2 separate regions of the Homo sapiens genome follow, and region 1 is linked to region 2. Evidence: promoter capture Hi-C in 16 types of primary human blood cells and fetal thymus (Javierre and others, 2016). All regions are on one chromosome and are shown on one strand. The core of a region is centred on a gene start or on the middle of the fragment in contact, and the rest is flanking DNA. Distances in the headings are between cores, read along the strand shown.

What was found. The method cuts DNA at HindIII sites, captures the fragments that hold promoters and counts their contacts. A CHiCAGO score of 5 or more calls a contact.
Region 1: a contact is called between a fragment that was not itself captured here and the fragment with the promoter of CA13 in region 2, in 6 of 17 cell types (M1 macrophages, megakaryocytes, endothelial precursors and 3 more). The highest score is 7.7, in M1 macrophages.

The regions. Positions count from the first base shown.
Region 1 is chr8:84,623,716-84,630,400 of GRCh38, forward strand. All of the region lies in intron 2 of RALYL (RALY RNA binding protein like), which reads left to right. Among named protein-coding and RNA genes, the nearest start is that of RALYL, 440 kb to the left of the region's middle. RefSeq lists an enhancer at 2,439-2,733. The HindIII fragment of the contact is 3,405 bases long and covers 2,603-6,007 here.
Region 2 is chr8:85,239,899-85,247,225 of GRCh38, forward strand. It overlaps CA13 (carbonic anhydrase 13), which reads left to right and starts at 5,560. Exons shown (of 7, transcript NM_198584.3): 1 at 5,560-5,967. The coding sequence starts at 5,931. LOC105375936 (a long non-coding RNA gene) reads right to left here and starts at 3,587. Exons shown (of 3, transcript XR_929126.3): 1 at 3,447-3,587. RefSeq lists a silencer at 5,815-5,894 and an enhancer at 6,255-6,364. The HindIII fragment of the contact is 11,713 bases long and covers 1-7,327 here.

The DNA.
Region 1 (6,685 bases), core at 3,055-5,554, 620 kb before region 2:
GATGTTGGTACAAATAGTTACCCTTTCACATGATGAGGACTATCACAAATATGCTGTGGGAAAAAAAGAGTGAGAGGAAAAAAAATTTAAAATATCCTTGAGCAAATCAAAGAGCATGGAATCCAAGCCTAAGCAGAAGGATTTGTTTCAACAGGAAGGGACCAATGGCCCCATCATGAACGTGGAAAGTCTGACCATCCTAGGTACATGAGGTTGGTAGGTCTGATAGTGGGAGATGAGATACTTCTCTTTCGACTGGTACTATTGTCTGTGTGAAATAATCACTTGAATAAACAAGTCTTGACAGAAAAGAGTTGAAGTTTTCACTTTGGGTTATTGTTAGTCTTTAGAGATCATCATATTCAACATCCCTCTCTGTCCAGGAATCAGATGAATAGTGCTCAGATATTTTGAACATGGCCATCCAGCAATGAGCAGCTTAGTTTTTCAAGGACAGCCCTTTCTGTGTTTAGACATCACTAATTTTTAGAAAACCTTTTCTTACTGTACTAGTTCTCTACTGCAGCTCTAACAAATTACCACAACTGAGCTGCTAGAAACAACCCAAGTGCATTATCATACAATTCTGTAAGTCAGAAGCCTAACGTGGGTTTTACTGGGCTAAAGTCAAAGTTTCAGTAAGTTTTGTGTTCCTTTTTGGAGGCTATAGGAAAGAATCCTTTTCCTTGTCTTTTCTGATTTTTAAAGGCCATGCACATTCCTTGGCGCATGGCCCCCTTTTTCATCTTCAATGCCAGCACCATTGCATCTCTCTGTGTGTTTCTGCTATGGTCATATCTTCCTCTGACTGACTGCACTTAGAAAAGGTTCTCTGCTTTTAAGGATGCATGTGATTAGATTGAGCACTTCTGGATAATCAGGACATCTCCCCATCTCAAGGTCCACAACCTTAATGCCATCTGCAAAGGCCTCTTTTTGTCTTGTAAGATTACATATTCACAGTCTACAAGGATTAGGACATGGACGTCTTTGGGGAACATTAGTCTGCCTACCACACTTGTTTTAGGTTTAAATCTTTTGCACACTGCCTCTTGACTTACCCTATCGAATTGTGAAACAAAATAGAGTCATTCTTTCCTTTTCCATAGAATAATCCTGTCAGATGTTTCAATGTAACCTTCAGGGGCTCTTGTCTTTTACCTCCCAAAATTTCTCCTAAACTTCTGTGCCCATAAGTAAACATAAGTCATACTGACATCATTGACATCATATAGTCTTTTTATACATATAGAGAAATGCATTCATAGATAATTTGAAAGTCACAGAGTACACAGAAACTGGAGTTTATTTGAATAGTGTTACAGTATATCTTAGAATTATGTCATAGTGTCCTTTTCAAAATATGAAAAACAAGTTTACATGTAAAATTATGTTGAAAAGAAAGTGATGAAACTGTCTTTCAAGCAAGTTGATTTTAATTTGGTTCAATTTCACAGTCCTTAATTGAACATTACTGGTACCTTATGAAACAATCTCTACCCTAATGACCTGGGGCTAATTGGGATGATGGGCACAAATGGTTTTATTGTATTATAGTAAATGAAATGATATAGTAATTATAGGATGCAATAGGAAAATAGCTTCGGGCAGAAGTAAAGAACTCTTCCTGGAATTGTCTCCTGTGCTAAATTTTAGTAGATGAGAAGTTAGGAAAGTGTACTGTATGGCAAGCACTTTCCAGACAACAGAAATAGAAGAAGTAAAAACACTGTGAAGCACCAAACATTATAGAGAGAGTGTATTTGGTAAGTATCAAGAAGCTCATGAATAGTACTAGTAGTAGCTTTAAATTCTGATTAGCATTTACTATTTATCAGCTAACTTTTCTAAGTGCTTTATTATTTTAACCTTCATAGAGATCCCATAAAGTAGATACCATAATTACCTAAATTCATTAGTTCAGGGAACTGAGGCACAAAGAGGTTAAGCAACTTGCCAACAATGTATAGCAAATCCAAGGTTTAAAACTCTGGAAGTCTGAAATCAAAGATTCTGTTACACCATACAAGCTCTCAGGATGACCAGAATATAAAGAATAAAGCAAAGAGTGGTGAATGATAAGGAATGTCAGCAGGAGTTTTTGTTAGAGCTGGAACCTTAACCAGTGGTGGAGGGGCTCCCTTGATGGGGTTAAACAGAAGAGTGTCATGGTCAAGTCACATGTCACTGTGGTTGTCATTGTGGTTGTGGTTATGTGGAGGGAGTGGGAAGTGATAAAAAGAGAAACACGCTAAAAGGTAATTCAGAGACAGGGGCACTTATCCAAGTAAAATATGACAAAAATATAGCAGAGTTAGCAAAGAAAAAAAAGGCTGAAAATGATAAATATTTAGGAAGTAAAATAACAGGATGTGATATTTGTATACAGGAGTATGTGATATAATAAAAATGAGATAAGAGATAACACTCAGTACTATAGTTTGACTTTTGAACTTTTGTAATTTACTAAGTTAGAGAACACTTAATAAGAGCGGAAAATACGTTTAAGTTGAACATACTGAGATAAAGCTGCATGTGAGAATTCCAGGCTGTGCCACTAGGCGGCGGCATTTGTGCGCCTGCATTGTGCGAATTCCGCCCAAGCTTTACTCTCTGCATGATTTGTCAGTGAAATTCTGAATGTCTAAAGACCTCTCATTCTCCACTTCTGTTGTATTATTAGTTTCTGACCACACGATGGAGTCATTTCTTCACATTTCCTCACACTGATTTTGTTTATTAAGAAAATCAATCCAGTCAAACACTAGCTGGAATAAAAGACATTTAAATTTTCAGAATATTCCTCTAAAAATTTAGGTTCTCTTTGACAAGGAACATAAAAATTAATTCAGTGAGTATTCAGAACCAGCTTCAGATTATTTAAAATGAAAATTGAGATTCCTGAAAAACATTAATTAATCCAGGAATATTGATTTTAAAAATTGTTTAGAGACACTGAAAAAGCATAAATATATAACTACTTGAGAAACTTTGTTAAGTCTGAATCAAATTTGGAATTCATTTAAAGCAGGTGATTGACTGTACACAAGTATATTGTCAAGCTGCATTCTATTTTGTGTATGATCCTGCCAAGTTTTAATAAATATTAGTCTTCAACCTTTAATCAATAATGTTTTAGAAGAGAGTAACAATAAATGGTATTGGTAGAGCACCTTACAGTTTGCTGCGCTTTCACAGCCTTATTTCGTGTGACACTGACAGACCAGTCAATTAAACCCCTATTCCAAGGAAAATGTAAAGAACTGATTCTAGACAAAGAAAAAATTAGTACTATTATCTCCCTTCACCTTACACATTTATACTGCCTCTGGTACACTCTTGCTCTTTAACAATGTATCTTCAATTTAATATCCAAAATCTGTTACAACGCTTTTAAATTACTGCAACAATAGAAGCATATGGTTCTTAACCTTTCAGGGTTGGATTGAATGACCTAAAAAGGGCTTCTGAAGTCTTCAACTTAGCATTCGTCTTTCCAGGTCAAATAATCCCTCCTATTTTTTCTCGCAGGGTGATCAGTCTTTTTGGAATGATCTCTCTCTTAGACCATGATAATTTTCCAGTTCTTTGTTCAGAATCTGGGTACCTGAAATCCCTATCCCAGATGATGTTTTTATACTAAGGCATAGCTGGGAGGAAGCCTCAATGGAAATACTGTCATTCTTAATTTTACAGTCATCTAGTGTGCCTTTCACTGCTCTCCAGAGAGAGGTCTTATCGAGTGGCTAGGATTCCAAATTCATGGACAATTTTCAGTTTTTATCTCCTAGGGTCTCTTTAATACATACAGCATTTCTTTCTTCCTGCAGAAGAAAGAAACACTTTCTTCCTGTGTTCTCCTAGATTTCTTCGTGCATTTCTGGCCACTCTTTCTCAGCTTCTTTTCCCCTGTCTCTTTCACTTCTTTCTCTGTATTCTGTTAAATACCAGATTTATTTCTCTAGCTCAGACCTATTCTATGAGCTGAGGTCTTATAGATAAAATTGAATTATTGATGTTTTTCACTTTCCCACCATAATGAATGATATGACCATCCATTCTTTCACTGTTCAAATGAGAAATCTCACACCCGTCTGTTTCCTCTCTCTTCTTTAATGCCCATATTTAAATTCAATCCTTCAATGTACCCTATCAAATCTATTTCAAATTGTACCCCACTAAATTCATGTCTATTTCCATTGTCAAAAGTTGATCCACTCTAAAATTCTCCATTTGGACCGTTATATTAGACTCCTGATTGCTGTTTCGTCTTTCTCTTTTGCCGTCTTTCAATCTATTCTCTGGAATCTCAAAGTAATCTTTTAAAAATATAAATACAACTAATGCCACTCATTGTGTAATACCTTTCAATGACTTACTGTTAGATGCAGAGTACAATCCTAACTACTAAACTTGATACAGTTTGGCTGGTATTTTTCGCTCCTCTTTTCTTAAGTAACTCTTTCCTCTTTTCATTATTCCATAGTCACCAACATTTATGCAACTTCTCAGCCCATGAATATTTTCTTCCTGCATTCACACATCTTAATTTTAATTAGTTCTTAGTTTCCCTGGCTCTTCCTCATCTTTCAAGTTTCAGATTTAGTAACACCTCCTCAAAAAGGCCTTCCTCACTCCCTATCCCATTATGATCCCCAATAGGCATGATTGTGTATTTTCTTCACGGTGCTTCCTAATTTGTGAACATTTATTTGCTTGTCTATTTCCCTTGTTAGAATATAAATTCCTTTGAGGGTAGACAAACTTACTTTTACCTACTACATTATTTAAGTCCTACAGAGTAGGTGATTATTAATATTCACCAAAAGAGTAAATGAATATATTTTTACATCAACTCATGTTGCAGTTAAATTCTGAAGAAATCATCACAGAAAATGGTAAGTAAAATCATAACATTTTGTTGAGAAATATCGGGGGATAGAGTGCTGATGGGGAGGACCATCACGGTAGGGTGCTGCTGAAGGAAACACCAAGTAAGAAGGGTGGATAGAGGGGCCTAGCAGGAATAACAGTAGCAGTCTCCATGAGCATCTACAATCTCAGATTGAAATACTGATGGAAGTTATTTTGGAAAATAATTTTTGTTTATTAAAACCAAAAATTGTTAATGGTAAAAAACAAAAATATTAATGGTGAAAGATCTTATTTCAGATGGTCTGTCCAGTAAAAAAAAATGTGGAGGATAATCTTTTGAAACAGATAATCTAATAGGCATAGATACAAAAAATAACTGCCATTATAGACATCTCAACTATCTGGATGCCTGATTGACTCAGCAAAAAGCACAGCATTTAATTACACCTAGAACCTTGACTCAGGATTATAATACACTGGAAGTGGCTACAGAAAATCTAGGCTGTTATTGAAATTGAATCCTCTAGGTGACTTCCCTAGTTTTTCTCTGTTGTGCATATCACCTTCTAATATACTAGGTATTTTATTTATCTGACTATTGACTGTCCTGCCTTATTGAATGTATGCTCCAAGAAGGCAGAAACCTTTGTCTATTTTGTTAACTTTAGTATCTCCTTCACCTAGATAGCAGGGGCTCAATAAACTTTTCTTTAATGGACAGAAATAAAAGTGACTACAATATTGTGCTGGAAATAATGTGAAAGTGTGGGAAAAATACTTCCAAAATGCATATATTCTGAGACTTAGATACTACTTCTGGGCATTCACCCTAGGAAAATAAGTGAGCAATACAAATATATAAGGATATTCATTGTGACACTTCTATAATAATAGTGAATAAGACTTAATCCTCAATAATGGCAGATTCATTAAACAAATTCTGGAAATTCCATGGAATGCAAACCTAAGCAAACAATGAAAATGGTACAGTGGAGATGTAAAGATATGTTACATATATTGCTCAGGGTAAATTCAGCTCATATGACAGAACAGTCTGTGTAATATGTATAATAATATACAATAGAGCATATATTTGTGTGTGTGTATATACACACAGTATTTCATAGACTAAAGCTTGAAAGGTTATGCACTACAATACTGAAAGTGGTTTTCAAGTGGAATTATGTGTGATTATTTTCCCCTTTTGTGTGTTTTCTAATTTTCCTACAATGAGTATGCATTTTTGGATGAAAAACCAAAAGGATATATGGTTTTCTAAGAGAAACTTTACTCCAGAAATTTTATAAATGACTATGCTGACATCCAAAAATGTTAAATGACATGCTAAAGGTCATGCAGCATTTTAATTTTCCTTTCAAAGAGCATCAACTCTGAGTAACTGAGAAAAGAAATAAGGGCTTGAAACTCCAAGCTTAATTCTGATTACCAAGAGAAAACATCATTTAAGCAAAGGGAAGTTTAGGACAATCAGGCTATATGATTTAGAATTTTTTCCAGCTAAGATTAGCACAACAAATGACAAAAATAATATTAAAAACAAAGATAGACTCTTAATTGGAAATGGAATTCAGAATGAGTAGAAGGCTCTGAAAATGGAATATTTGACATTACAAATGTTTCACTAATTAGTAACAGGAAAGCCACCCTAAATACAGCTTGGCTACCTAGTGTGCTCTCCAAAGAACTCTTAGTGTAACTGGGACCTACTAGTGTGGAGGGTTGAGTCATAATTCAGGACAGGTACATGAAGATAGCCAGGGAGGCCACCAAACTTTAAAAAACTTCAAAC
Region 2 (7,327 bases), core at 4,310-6,809:
GTCTTTCACTCTGCCCTATGCCCCTTGGTCAAATTCTTTCTTCTGAGGAGGCAAGAATTGAGGTTGTTGTAGACCTGTACAGGTTCGCAGCTGCTAACAAAACTAGTCACTTCTCCAAATAGCTCTGGTTCCTTCGAAGGGGGAATGGTGTTTAGGAAACAAGATCTGGGTGCTAGTGTTTAAATCACCTTTGCAAAAATCATAATAGTGAGAAAATTGTAACAGTGAAAGAGGTCTTACCTAACCAACTTCATCTTGCCTTTCACCTCCAAACTGCCCTTGATCATTTCTGGGTGTGAACCAAGCTAACTTTGGGAGAAATTTAGTTTATAATTTCAATGGTAATAACCCTTCCCAAAGCCATTTATTTGTTCTGTAGCTCACGACATTTTCAACTTCCCCAATTACTCTCATAAATAACATCACTATTGTAGAACCTGAGATTGACCTTTTGAGATGTTTTTTCAGGCTTTTGCATGTATGATGACCAGATGGCCCCACCCAGACCAGCAACTCCTCTGTGGCCCCCACCCAAAAGTGGACTCAGCTCATGAGGACCATTTTCTACACCACCGTAATTGCATTTCCAACCACTCAGCATCACCCATTCCCTAGCCCCCTGCCTGCCAAACTATTCTTGAAAAACCCTAACCTTGGAATGTGGTGGGAGGCTGATTTGTGTAATAATAAAACTTTGAGTAGGGCATGGTGGCTGACACCTGTAATTTCAGCACTTTGGGAGGAGGCTAAGGCAAGAGGATTGTTTGAGCCCAGGAGTTTGACTGGGCTCATAGTTTGCCTGGGCAACACAGTGAGACCCTGTCTCTCCCCACTACAAAAAAAAAAGTTAGCCAGGCATGGTGGCACATGCCTGCAATCCCAGCTACGTGGGAGGCTGCGGCAGGAGGATGCTTGAGCCTGAGAGGTGGAGGCTGCAGTGAGCTGTGATTGCACCACTCCACTCCAGCCTAGGTGACAGAATGAGACCTTGTCTCAAAAAACCAACCAAACAAAAAAGCTCCAGTCACTCATTTAGCTGGCTCTATTTCAATTCCCCTGTCTTCATCAATAATTAGTTCTGCCTAGGAAATGGGCAAGATGAACCCATTGGGCAGTTTCAGTGTCTCATAGCAAGGGGTAGATTCAGATTTGTAGAGCCTGAAGCTACTACAATTTTGGGACTTTTTTTTTTTAAAGAAAAGGAATGTAAAGTTACAAATATAAAATTAGTATATGGCTTTAGAAGTGGTCCCTCAGTGAAGGGCTATATATTTTAAGGTTTATTAGCTTCATTATTATTGGGATATTATTGTTCTTGGGATCTTTCAGTGAAGAGAATGTTCAAATGCAACACCACGGGTTTATTTCTTAGCTTCTGTCATTTCCTATTTTGTATAAACCAGAATGAAAATCATGCTTCCAGAGATTATCAATATATTTGTTCATTTGCTCTATCTTACTATTTTCACACAAGTGGTTTCCAGCCAGGCACAATGGCTCATGCCTGTAAATCCCAGCACTTTGGGAGACCGAAGTTGGTGGATCACTTGTCAGGAGTTCCAGACCAGCCAGGCCAACATGGTTAAACCCCGTCTCCACTAAAAGCACAAAATTGCCAGGGCATGGGGGTGGGCACCTATAATCCCAGCTACTTGGGAGGCTGAGGCAGGAGAATCGCTTGAATCCGGGAGGTGGAGGTTGCAGTGAGCCGAGATTGCACCACTGCACTCCAGCCTGGGTGGCAGAGCAAAACAACATCTCAAAACAAACAAACAAACCAATAAAAAATGGTTTCAGAAGCATAACACCAATATCCTACCAAAAACAAACCTACTAGTAATGTTCAAGATTTTCTTTCATTTCTTCTTAATATGTTATATGTCCTACTAAGGATATATAGCCAAAGTACTATAGTCGAACGCTATTTAACTTTTTCTTTATGGTTACATTATCAATTCAATATACAATTAATTTTAATTGTTTCTGTTTGAATTCAATTTCAGGGTTTGCTTTTTTATTCTCTTTAATTTAAATTTATTTTTTAAAAATGCAGAACAATGTTAAAAGAAAAATCTTAGACAAATTAAATTGAACAGAGTTTAATTGTGCAAAGAACAATTTGCAAATTGGGCAATGTCTCCAATCAGAATAGGTTCAGAGAGACTCTGGCCCTTCTGTGTGGTTAGATTGATGGACAGAGAAAGGAAAGTGATGGACAGAAAATGGAAGTCAGGTACAGAAACAGCTGGTTTGGTTACAGCTCAAAGTTTACCTCAGTTGAACAGGGTTTGAACAGTTGGCTGCCTTTGATTGGCCAACATTCAGTGATTGGCACAAGAGTGGGCTACAGTCTATTTACACATCTAGTTAGGTTAGAGTTCACTATATACACAGAAAACTTTAAGCTGGACTAAAATATGTAAGGAGGCAGCTTTAGGCTAAAGTTAATTTACGACATTTATGATTAAAAGTCAAAAAGATACACTGAGAAGTTTCACTTATCCCTCTCCCTCTGTTATTGGAAAGAGGTCCCAGTCCAGACCCCAAGAGAGGGTTCTTGAATCTCATGCAAGAAAGAATTTGGGTTGAGTCCACAGAGTAAAGTAAAGGCAGGTTTATTAGAGAAGTAAAGAAAAAAAGGGGCCGGTGCGGTGGCTCACGCCTGTAATCCCAGCATTTTGGGAGGCCGAGGTGGGCAGATCACGAGGTCAGGAGTTCGAGACCAGCCTGACCAACATGGTGAAATCCCGTCTCTTCTAAAAATACAAAAATTAGCCGGGCGTGGTGGTGGGCGCCTATAGTCCCGGCTACTCAGGAAGCTGAGGCAGAAAAATCACTTGAACCTAGGAGGTGGAGGTTGCAGTGAGCTGAGATCGTGCCACTGCTCTCCAGCCTGGGCGACAGAGAGAGACTCCATCTCAAAAAAAAAAGAAACAAAAGAATGGCTACTCCATAGACAGAGTTGCCCTAAGGGCAACTGGTTGTCTACTTTTTATGGTTATTTCTTGATTACATGCTAAACAAGGGGTGGATTATTCATGAGTTTTCTGGGAAAAGGGTGGGAATTTCCTAGAACTGAGGTCTCCTCCCACTTTTAGATCATATAGGGTAATTTCCAAATGTTGTCATGGTATTTGTAAACTGTCCTGGGGCTGGTGGGAGTGTCTTTTAGCATGTGAATGCATTATAATTAGCATATAATAAGATTTGAATGGAGTTGCTGTGGTTCCATTGCCTCTGACACTTCCACCCCATTCACACTCATCCTCTATAAGGAACTATTTTTATTAATTTATGGCTTTTTCTCTACTTTTTTGGTAAAAATCTGAAAATATGTGTGCAGTTTCTTATTTCTATTTTTTTCTTAAACATGCAGTCTATTATATACACTCTTTTGCTCCTTTGCTTCCCCCGCTCCCGCAACCTCAATACATCCCAGGACTCACTTTATATCTGCTCTGCTCATGGAGATCTTCATTCTTTTTATAAATGGACAATAGTCCATTGAATGGCAGCTGGGCGCAGTGGCTCACATCTGTAATCCCAGCACTTTGGGAGGCCGAGGCGGGTGGATCACCTGAGGTCAGAAGTTGGAGACCAGCCTGGCCAACATGGTGAAACCCCATCTCTACTAAAAATACAAAAATTAGCCACTAGTAATGCATGCTTGTAATCCCAGCTACTCTGGAGGCTGAGGCAGGAGAATTGCTTGAACCTGGGAGGTGGAGGTTGCAGTGAGCCGAGATCGCACCATTGCACTCCAGCGTGGGCAACAAGAGCGAAATTCCATCTGAAAAAAATATATATATATATAAGTCCATTGAATGATGGATGCTCTACAGATGACCTAACTAGTTTCCTATGAAAGGTAATTTGATTGTTGCCAATACTTAGGTTGCTGTTTTAGAAAATTATATAGACTGCGCTATGAATTTAAACAAGAAGGAACTTGAAACCACTACTGCAAAATTATAATTGAAACAGTGAAAGAGATTGGACCTAACCAACTCTATCTTATTTCTAACTTCTAAGCTGTCCTTACTCATTCTTAGGCATAGGCTGAACTAACTTTGAGGAGGAACATAGTTTATAGTTTAGAACAAAGACAATAACAGCCCTTTCCCAAAACAAACCTTCTTTCCTGGGGACTGGACCGCCTTTGCAGGACTAACAAATTAGCCAAAAGATTAGAAATTATGGTTTAGGAGTCATACAGCTGGAGGCTGTATGATTCTGACCCTCCCCAAATTGCTCCTGGGAATAACATCACTATTGTAAAGCCTAAGACCAGTGCTTCAGATATGTTGCAGACCCTGCACTGGATGGATCAGCAGGCACCACTCAGCTCGATAAACTGGCTCATCTGATCCCATGGCCCCCACCCAGGAACTGACTTAATGCAAGACAGCTTTGACTCCCTATGATTTCACCTCTGACCCAAACAACCAGGTCTCCCGACTTACTGGCTCTCCTCCACCCACCAAATTGTCCTTAAAAACTTTGATCCCCAATGCTTGCGGAGACTGATTTGTGTAATAATAAAACTCCAGTCCTCTGCACAGCCGGCTCTACGTGAATTTCCCTTTATGAATTGCAATTCCCCTGTCTTGATAAATCAGCTGTGTCTTGACAGTGGGCAAGGTAAACCCATTGGGTGGTTACAAACTGTGTACCCAAGCAATAAAAGTAACAATTTGGGAAGTATTTGAGACCCACCAACCAAAATTTCTTTAACAATTTTGGTCTATTCAGTCATTCATCCATTCATGTAACCACTATTATTGGGTGTCAAGAACTGATACTTACTTAGAACGTTAAGAGCATTATTCATCTTGACATACCAAATCATCCGAGTTACTGAAAATTGGTTTACTAGGTTCCTTACAAAGAGGTTGCTTGGATTTATAAAATATGAGGCAGTTGACCCGAGACAAGGACGTAGAAAGTGGTTCATGTACCCAATTTTTATTTTTCACTTTGAACCCAGAACATTCACGACTCCAGGCCAGAAATTCAAGACTCTGCAGCTAGTTCTGACTCCAGTCCTAGGGTAACAAGCCCACCAAGAATCCAGGGCAGATGTCCTGAAAACCCTTCTTGCGGGGTCAGGAGGGCAGCAGAATTTTGGGACCAAATCTCAACAACTGGTTTTGGTTTCCTCACTCACCAAGCCACAAGCCTGCAGAGTGAGAAGAGGTAAGGAAAGGATGAATGGGCAATGGAGCCAGCCCAGGACCGGGAGCTGGTCCTCTCTAACAGCGACCCCGCCCGCTTTAGCTGAGCGACCCGGGGCAGGTTACATAGTGTCTCTAACTTAAGCCACGTGTTTCTCGAGGAAATGCTGAGAGGATCTAATGGGAAAACGTGGGTACACGTCTTAGCTAAGACCCTCGCCCACGATAAGCCCTTAATAAGTAGTTATTTTTCAGTGGTGGTGATTACCATCGTCATTATTGTTTTGTATTTGTAATCATCACTGCCACGACCATCACCGACCTCTTTTACGCCTCCACCGGGATCCCCACCTCCCAGCCTGGCAGTTCCAGGCTCTGGTGACTCATTCACTTCCTGGAAGTCCTCTAGGCAACACTTTCCTCTCCCGAGTGACGACTCCTCAGAAGGCAGGAGATCCCCCCCGGAAACCTTTCTCTCTCCGTCTCTCCCTCTAACTCAAATCTCTCATTCCCGAGTCCAAACTAAGAGAGACTCGCGCCCCAGGAGTCAGCCAGCGGCGCGGGCGCCTTCCCCGCACGCCTCTGCCGTCTGGAGGACGCAGGCGGGAGCGCCCCGGACCGGGTTCACGGTCTCGCACTCCTGCCGCCGGCGCCCCGCGGTCCCGCCCTAGCAGGCTCCTTCCCGGGCCCCTCCCCGCTCCCTCCTCTTTCTCGCTGCTCAGTCACATCTTTCTCTTCCTTCCACCCCGAGGGACCATGTCGAGGCTCAGCTGGGGATACCGCGAGCACAACGGTGAGCGCCTTTTCCTGATCCAAGGGGGGGTTTGTGCGGGGGACGAGAGGACTAGCGCGACGCCCCGGCGCTCGCTGACCACACACTGGGCTCGCACATTGAGAAACTTTTTCGGTTCCTCTTTAAACTAAGCAGCACTCCTGGGAGCCCAGTGCGAGAAGCGGAGAGCAGTCTTGTCAGGGTAGACGGGTTGTTGGTGGTGGATGTGAGCGTTGGTGTGTGTTATCTCTGTCAGGATTCCCCAAACTCCCAAGTGTTCATACGTGTGAGTTCACCTTCATCTGAAAAGCCAAGGACTTTGCCTAGTAACAGCCACGTATCAATTACAGGCTTGGAGATCAGAAGTCTGATGACACACTTCAGTGAAATAAGGACAAGTTCGCTTTCAGTCTTTTAAGCTCACTATTCACTTAGGAGAAACAAATCATAGAAAATCTTTAAAAATATATTTAGGAAATCTTAACTTGCATTGTGACACTGAAGATTAAGTTGGCTTCGTGGCAAACAAAATACTGCATGTTTCCTAATAGTTGTTACTGTAAATATTCCCACAGCAATTTGCAGTTGGCTGACTACTACTGGGGACTTTAGTAAGGGTTCAGGTTCTCGCTGGGAAATTAAGTTACATTGTGGGTTACTTCTCCACTCTTCTTCTCCACGCTCATCCTTGCAGGGTGAGCAAAGGATTACTGAAATTATAATTCATTGATAGAAATGTATTAATAGGATAAATAATAATGACATACACTTTTCTTCTTGTATATCACACATTATCAAAAGTAAAACATTTTTTCTTGTTCCTACGTTAAACTGAACTGATTGTTTAAATAATAATTATTTGAAATAATCGCAGTGACACCAAAAAGCCTTATAGTGAATAACTGTCAAAATTAAGGCTTAGTTTAGCCATTCCTCAATGTGCATATATTTCAAAACATCATGTTGTACACATAAATATATACAATTTTTGTCAATTTAAGAAGTAAATACATAATAAAGAAAAAAATTAAGGCTGTGAATAATAATGCTTTCCTTCTATTAGCATGTACATGATTAAACAGTATAGAATGGTCAAATTTTATAGAAAGTTTAATTTCACAAACTAACAGAAAAATTCTATTTCTAATTGTAGCCTGTTTAATTTCTAATTGTAGCCTGTTTTTAAACATGCTAGTTTAAAAATGGCAGCAGGTGAAATTTATAACTTTAATAATAAAAGGTGTATAGTCAGATTTCTTCTTGATTAAGGCCATAATTATAATCTTACATTTTGCTAATTTCCAGTGAATGTTTAGGGGGAAAATATGACAAATCTTTTTTCATTTCCCTCTCTGCTGAAGTCGTTTTTATTGGAGTTATT